2 separate regions of the Homo sapiens genome follow, and region 1 is linked to region 2. Evidence: promoter capture Hi-C in 16 types of primary human blood cells and fetal thymus (Javierre and others, 2016). All regions are on one chromosome and are shown on one strand. Each heading gives the region's core, a stretch centred on a gene start or on the middle of the fragment in contact. The rest is flanking DNA. Distances are from core to core; before and after follow the strand shown. Region 1 overlaps FGD6 (FYVE, RhoGEF and PH domain containing 6). Region 2 holds the start of NTN4 (netrin 4).

Region 1 (3,631 bases), core at 1,071-3,570, 680 kb before region 2:
CTGGCCTTTGGTGGGTAGGAGGCAGGGATGCCAAACTCCATGCAATACTCCTTAGAAACCCACACAAAGATTATTCAGAACAATATGACAGTAGCATTCCCACTGAGAAAAACTGGTAGAGTGTTAGAGAGGGAAGCATCTCCTCCTGAGGCTGCTGTGGCAGTGACAGTGGTCATCAAAAAAAGGACTATTAAAAAAAAGAGTGGCTGGGCGCGGTGGCTCACGCCTGTAATCCGAACACTTTGGAAGGCTGAGGTGGGCGGATCATTTGAGCTCAGGAGATCGAGACCAGCCTCAGCAATAAGGTAAAACCTTGTTTCCACAAAAAATCCAAAAATTAGCTGGGTGTCGTGGCTCATGTCTGCAGTCCAGCAATTTGGGGCGCTCAGGTGGGAGGATCATTTGAGCCCAGGAGGTCAAGGCTGCAGTGAGCCCAGATCACACCACTGCATTCCAGCCTAGGTGACAGAATGAGGCCCTGTCTCAACAAAACAAAACGAAACAAAAACAACAACAGTAAATCAATTTCTGAAAAGGGGTTGAGGTGTTTTGGTCCAGTTATTGTAATCTATCAAAGGACTGTCTTCCTGGTACCAGCCGTGGAGGCTTCTGTATTCTTTTTTTTTTTCTTGCTCTGTCACCCAGGTTGGAGTGCAGTGGCGCGATCTTGGCTCACTGCAAGCTCCACCTCCCGGGTTCACACCATTCTCCTGCCTCAGCCTCCCAAGTAGCTGGGACTACAGGCACCTGCCACCACGTCCAGCTAATTTTTTGTATTTTTAGTAGAGACGGGGTTTCACCGTGTTAGCCAGGATGGTCTTGATCTCCTGACCTCGTGATCCGCCCGCCTCAGCCTCCCAAAGTGCTGGGATTACAGGTGTGAGCCACCACACCCGGCCTGTATTCTTTCCACATGTATCATCATCACTATTATTAAAGGAAAGCAGGTTTTTCCTTATATAGAGACCCTGACTATATATCAGAATTTTTTTTTTTTTTTGAGACAGTCTTGCTCTGTCTCCCAGGCTGAAGTGCAGTGGCATGATCTTGGCTTACTCAACCTCCGCCTCCCAGATTCAAGCAATTCTCCTGCCTCAGTCTCCTGCATAGCTGACATTACAGGTGCACACCAGTATGCCCAGCTAATTTTTGTATTTTTAGTAGAGACGGGGTTTCGCCATGTTGGCAGGGCTGGTCTCAAACTCCTGACCTCAGGTGATCCACCCGCCGCAGCCTCCCAAAGTGCTGGGATTACAGGTGTGAGCCACGGTACTCAGCCATGTATCAGAATTTACGGTGCCTGGTACCCTTTTCACAGCAGGTTCAAGAGGTTACCGTGGACACATTTCCTGCTTTCTGGCCTGCTGGAATTCCCGGTGGACAGGGGAGAGATGCCTTAAGATTTAATGGATGACAAAGCTGCTGCTGCTACTTGGTCACCTGGTCTCCCAAGCTCTACCTTCCCTACTCCATGCTGTGATTCTACTTTCCCCACGTCATCCCGTTAAGAGGCCCTGATGCCTCTATTCCTTTAACTCTTCTGCCTACCTTTCAAAGTTATTCTTGCCTCACCTTCCCTCACCCTTGAAGTCTCATCCACACTGCTCACCACTCTTTTTTTCCTGAGACAGAGTCTTGCTCTGTCGCCCAGGCTACAGTGCAGTCGCGGGATCTCGGCTTACTACAACCTCCATCTCCCAGGTTCAAGCGATTCTCATGCCTCAGCTACTGAGTACCTGGTATTACAGGCATGCACCCCCATGCCCCACTAATCTTTGTATTTTTAGTAGCAAAGGGTTTTGCCATGTTGCCCAGGCTGGTCTTGAATTCCTGGCCTCAAGTGACCCACCTGCCTCGGCCTCCCAAATTGCTGGGATTATAGGCATGAGCCACCACGCCCGGCCACTGCTCACCATATGATTGCTGTGCCTCTGGCCATACAGTGGGCCTCACTGTTCACTGGTTTTCTCATCTATGTCTTTGCTGTCACATGTAATTTCCTTTAAATAAGCTCCTTAATCTCTGACCCTGAATTTGTTTTATGTGTAAAATGGAGCTAATAACTCACTTTCATTGAAGGCAGAAGCCCAGGACCCAGGACAGATGTTTTCTTTCTATTCTATAAGTTCCATGTATAATTTGTATCCTCACGAGAGGGGCTGCCGTCGGGAATGCTCATTTTTCCTCTCACCCACTCTCCCACTCATCTCCAGTCCTACTTTTTCCTGCAAAGCTTCCCTGCCTCTTTAACCTTCACACTTTTCTCTGTCATCCAAATAATTCTGTCCTGCTCGGTGCACCCTTACTTTGAAGTCATTTGCTTTGTTCTTTATTTGATGGATATTATAAACTTCTTCATCAACTAGATATGATCACTGAAGACAGGAAACTTGTCAGATCCCCAACCACAAGCTTTTCCTTTAAAAAAAACCGCCTTTAAAAGCATAATGTACACAAACAGAAGATGTTAAGAGAAGTAAAATGATTAAAAGAATATATAAGAATCTCTACAAAAAGGGTTAAAAATGTTCACTTTTTACTCTGCAAATGTAAAGGATATACAAGAATGTGATCAGGCCAGGTGTGGTGGCTCATGCCTGTAATCCCAGCACTTTGGGAGACTGAGGCAGGTGGATCGCTTGAGCTCAGGAGTTCGAGACCAGCCTGGGCAAGATAGTGAAACCCTGTCTCTACAAAAAATATAAAAATTAGCAGGGTGTGATGGTATGTGCCTGTAATCCCAACTACTTGGAGGGCTGAGGCAAGAGAATTACTTGAGCCCAGGAGGTTGAGGCTGCAGTGAGCCGTGTTCATGCCACTGCACTCCAGCCTGGGTGACAAAGTAAGACTCTGTCTCAAAAAATTAAAAAAAAAAAATGTGATCAAAATTCATAAAATTAATGGACTTGCTTAACATGTTTCTGCAGTTAGACCCAGGCGTTGCTGGGCATGGTGGCTCACATCTGTAATCCCAGCACTTTGGGAAGCCAAGGTGGGCAGATCACTTGAGGTCAGGAGTTCGAGACCAGCCTGGCCAATATGGTGAAACCCCATCTCTACTAAAAATACAAAAATCAGCCGGGCATGGTGGTACATGCCTGTAGTCCCAGCTACTTGGGGGGCTGAGGCAGGATAATTGCTTGAACCCAGGAGGCAGAGGTTGCAGTGAGCCGATATCGTGCCACTGCACTCCAGCCTGGGTGACAGAGTGAGACTCTGTCTCAAACAAAAAAAGAACAAGGGGTATACCTGTGACATTTGAAAGAGGTTGTTGGGAATAAACAGAAACACCCAAACAGAATTAATCTGTGTGTATGTGTGTGTATCTGCGAGAGAGGGAGGGAGAGAGATTGTGAGGGAGAGAGACACAGGCACACAGACACAGGAACTCCAATTATCCCACTAGCTATGAGTCCCTCATGTTGTAATGGATTGTTTCCCTTAAGTACTACTAGGGCTGAGGGAAGGCTAATATCCTATTGTTAGACAGTGCCAGAATAATATGCTTTTTTAGACTCATCCCTGCTTTGTAGTTTAGTCACTTCATGGACTCATGATTTTGAAGCTTGAGGACCTTGCAGATCTGGTTCAATCCCTGTTTTTGAAAGACAAAGAAATGGACCTCTAGGGA
Region 2 (3,526 bases), core at 988-3,487:
AAAGAGGGAAAAGGAAATCAACCCTTAAATTCTGGCTAATTGAATGTTTCTGCTGCTTAAGAAGCAGTACCTCTGAACTGTTGTCATAGTAAGGATTGGAGGAGGCCAAATGACAGCTTAGGCTGCAACAGAGACATTTCACACACTGACAATGGCCAACCCCACGAAGCCTTGCAACTAAAGGGCTTCCTTAGGCATTATTTTTTAAATGTCAAATTAAAGTGTGCATTATGCCTGGGTTCTGTTTGCCACTTTTCTCATTAGCTGGGGCAACAGTTGCTTGTGGCCAGAAGCACACAAACACACAATGTGCTATGACTCACCTGTAAAAAATTTCAAGGAAAATCATATACTGCCTGTACAAGTATTTTTGACTTGAAACACTTGCCTTGTGATGTTTATTTACAACCTTTCAATGGCTTGCATGTTTTTGCCATAATATGGTTTGAGAAGGAAAAGGTTTTTTTTAAAGCTCATATTTTAAGAGTGCAAGAATTAAAGTAAAATCTTAGGCCTTTAATAGGTCCCTGGGAAAAATATCCAATAATTTTAAATGCCCCTAAACTCCTAAGTCCAGAAAAGATTTGAGCCAGATAAAGAATCCATGGGGCAAAATACTTGGAGTCACTCAAGGGACTATTCAATGATACTAAGGATGCTCCTGTGACTTGGACTGGTTTGGGATGCAGACTGGAAAGCCTGGATTTTGCTGGGTGCCAGCGGCCCTCAGGGAAGAGTGGAAGCCCAAGGGAGGAGATGCGTGCTACAATGTTCTGTAGCCACCAGCGCATCCCTCTAGCCCAGGCGCCCCTTTCTGAAGCAGTCAAGATCCGCACGAGAGACTGGATGTCTGCAGACTCCCTCACATCTCTCCCCCTCACCTACAGGGCTGCGCTTACGCCTAACTGGAAACCAGGTGACCCGCAAGAGGGAGGGAGAGGAGCAGAAGGGGCTCCCGAATACAGAAACCACGAGCCAGGAGCCGGTGGCCTAGGGCAGCCCAAGAAAGCCAGGATGGGAGTGGGAGGGAGAGGGCATCTGCCGACGCCGACGCCGGTTGTCCAGTTACCGAGCCAGGGAGCAGACCCGCCTCCGACCTCCCGCAGAGTCTCTGCCAGGGTACCAATTCCCCAGGGGCGGCCAGCCAGCTCAATGCAAGCCCGGGGTGATCACCACCTATCGTCCAAGCCAGGAGTCCCACTGCGTTCCAGTCACTGCTCCGGGGAGAGGGCGCTCAGCCCTGCCCCAGGTGTCCTTACCTGGTTCTCTAGTACCCAGCACCAGGTCAGGGACACCAGCGATGGGCTTCTACCAGAGACCGGCCCCAGCCCACGCGCGCCCAGGGTCGCTGGGCCACCCCTCCTCATCATTCCTTAGGCCATGAAGTGCCGGGGGATGGCGAGCTGGGTCCTTTGTTCCCTCACCAAGTGGAAAAGCAGTTTTTTAACAAGCCAAACCAAGAAAGAAACCCCGGTCGCAGTATCCCCGGCAGGGCGCACCCAGGATAGCTGGTTATCCAAGCGCATGTGTATCCCAGTTGTAAAAATAAATCAATAGTATTTGAAACTGCGGAGCCCCGGGGAAAGGAGGCGGAACATGGCCACTCATTTCACCCTCGGGAGCAGCGCTCTGCGCTCGCAGCCCTGGCTCCCCTGCACCCCCGAGTCCCGAGATGGGTTAGAGAAGCAGCGAGGGAAGGGGTGGGGGCCCCGCCGCGTCACCACCCACCTGCGGCCACCACCGTGCAGCCCCAGAGCAGCAGCAGCCGCGCGCAGCTCCCCATGGCCGGGAGGAGCCGGGAGCAGCCGGGCCGGGCGGGTGCCGGAGGGAGCCGAGACCTCTGGGCTGCGGGATGAAGCGCCGCCGTCCTCGGGAGGGAACGGGGCCCTGGTTTCTTCCTCCTCCTGGGGCGCCGGGCTCGGTCAGCGGTCGCCGGCAGCTGGGAGCCAGGGGCCGGGACCGCGCGGGGAGGTGGGGTGACCCTCGCGCACCGGCCTGGCGGGTCCCGGGCACCTGGGGGGCGGCGGGAGCCCCGGGACCATAGCCGGCCTGGCTGCGCTGCCCCGCGGAGCGGCCCTGCGGGCTCGTCTGCCGCTAGCCCGGGGCTCGGCGCCCGCAGCCGCCGCTGAACTTTGCGAGACCTTTCACTTCCCGGCCGCCGCCGCCGCCTCCTCCTGGGCGTCCTCCTCCGCTTTTCCCACCTCTTCTGGCTGCCCCGGCTCCGTCCCGTCCTTCTCCACGGGCAGTTCCATGCGATGCATTTTTATTGCACCGACGCCGCGGCGCTCCGGTGCCAGCCCTCCTCCCCTCGCACCTCCACCCCTTCCTCCCGCCCGCCCCCCGCGCTTGACAGCCCGGGCGGCGCAGCCCGCGGGATCGGATCGCCGCTGCCGCTGCCGCCCGGGGGGGGGGTCCCCCGCGCCCCGACCGACGCCCCCGACGCCCGGCTGCCCGCTGGTCCCGGTCGCCTCAGCCTGGCCCCCGGCTGCCCTGGCGCCCCTCCTGGCCCGCGCCCTGCATCTCCCTAGTGACCCCCCTGGTGCCCTGCAGCACCCACAGGCCTCCCCTGGGAAGCAATCTCCCACCTTCTCCCGGAACATTCCTAAGAGCAGTAGACTCCCTCTAGATCAGGTCAGGGCATGCCAAGGGGCTTAAAAAACCGCGAAACAGGCTAGCGCCTACTTCCCACATCCCCCAGCGAAACAAGCCCTCCCTCCTCCTCCAGCCACCCCCTCTCGGGGAGTCCCACGACCCGGGGACGGAACACCCCAACCCAGCCCCGCGTCACCCGCACTGAGAGCGCGCCAACTGCTAAGCGGCGTTCGCCGCTTCTCTGCTGCCTTTTGCGGGGGTAGGGGGATGTCTCGGCTAAACAATCGCTGCCTACATGATCCGAAGGTGTGCCCACTTTGGTGTAAGAGGTATTGCCTAACTCAAACTCAAGGTGCTGAAAGAAAAGGGTCACAGGATTAGCTAGTCGGCAGTGTAAGAACATCGTTGTCCAGAGGCAGGGCAAGGGCACGACAAAGGGAACTCTTCGGTCCTTCCAAGCGTTCTCCCTTTATAGAGTATGCCGTGCTGTGAAACAGTGTTAGGAACTAACTTATGGGGAGCAATTTAGTAGCAACCACACGCAGCTAATTGCAGATAGGATTGCTCAGGGCTGGTGCTTCTGGAAAGAGATTAAATAGCAGCCGAGTCTGAGATTTTTGCAAGTTCTGTGAAAATATAATTCTACTTACACATCCAGGGAAACTGGCAAAAGTTAAGTCGACAGCAATTTTGTATTGCAGTGCTCATTTTGTTCCTTTGAATATTTTCCAGAAAATTAACTACGTTCCAGATACCATTTAGTCGTTGTGTCTGTTACAGATGAGGATAATTCAGAGCTTTGGGATACATGTAGATATTATTTACAATGACCCAGCCAGGAACATATAAGAAGTTTATATCTCCCAGGGGGATCTGGGTTGAGGTCAGCATAATCCATTTGGGCGACATTAAAATTATTCTTCTGGCCAACAGA

The links. The method cuts DNA at HindIII sites, captures the fragments that hold promoters and counts their contacts. A CHiCAGO score of 5 or more calls a contact.
Region 1: a fragment that was not itself captured here is called in contact with the fragment with the promoter of NTN4 in region 2 in 1 of 17 cell types (naive CD4 T cells); the score reaches 5.2 in naive CD4 T cells.

Annotation. Positions count from the first base shown.
Region 1 is chr12:95,109,377-95,113,007 of GRCh38, forward strand. All of the region lies in intron 9 of FGD6 (FYVE, RhoGEF and PH domain containing 6), which reads right to left. Among named protein-coding and RNA genes, the nearest start is that of NR2C1, 38 kb to the left of the region's middle. The HindIII fragment of the contact is 179 bases long and covers 2,232-2,410 here.
Region 2 is chr12:95,788,527-95,792,052 of GRCh38, forward strand. NTN4 (netrin 4) reads right to left here and starts at 2,238. Exons shown (of 10, transcript NM_021229.4): 1 at 1,729-2,238. The coding sequence starts at 1,783. The HindIII fragment of the contact is 5,039 bases long and covers 1-3,526 here.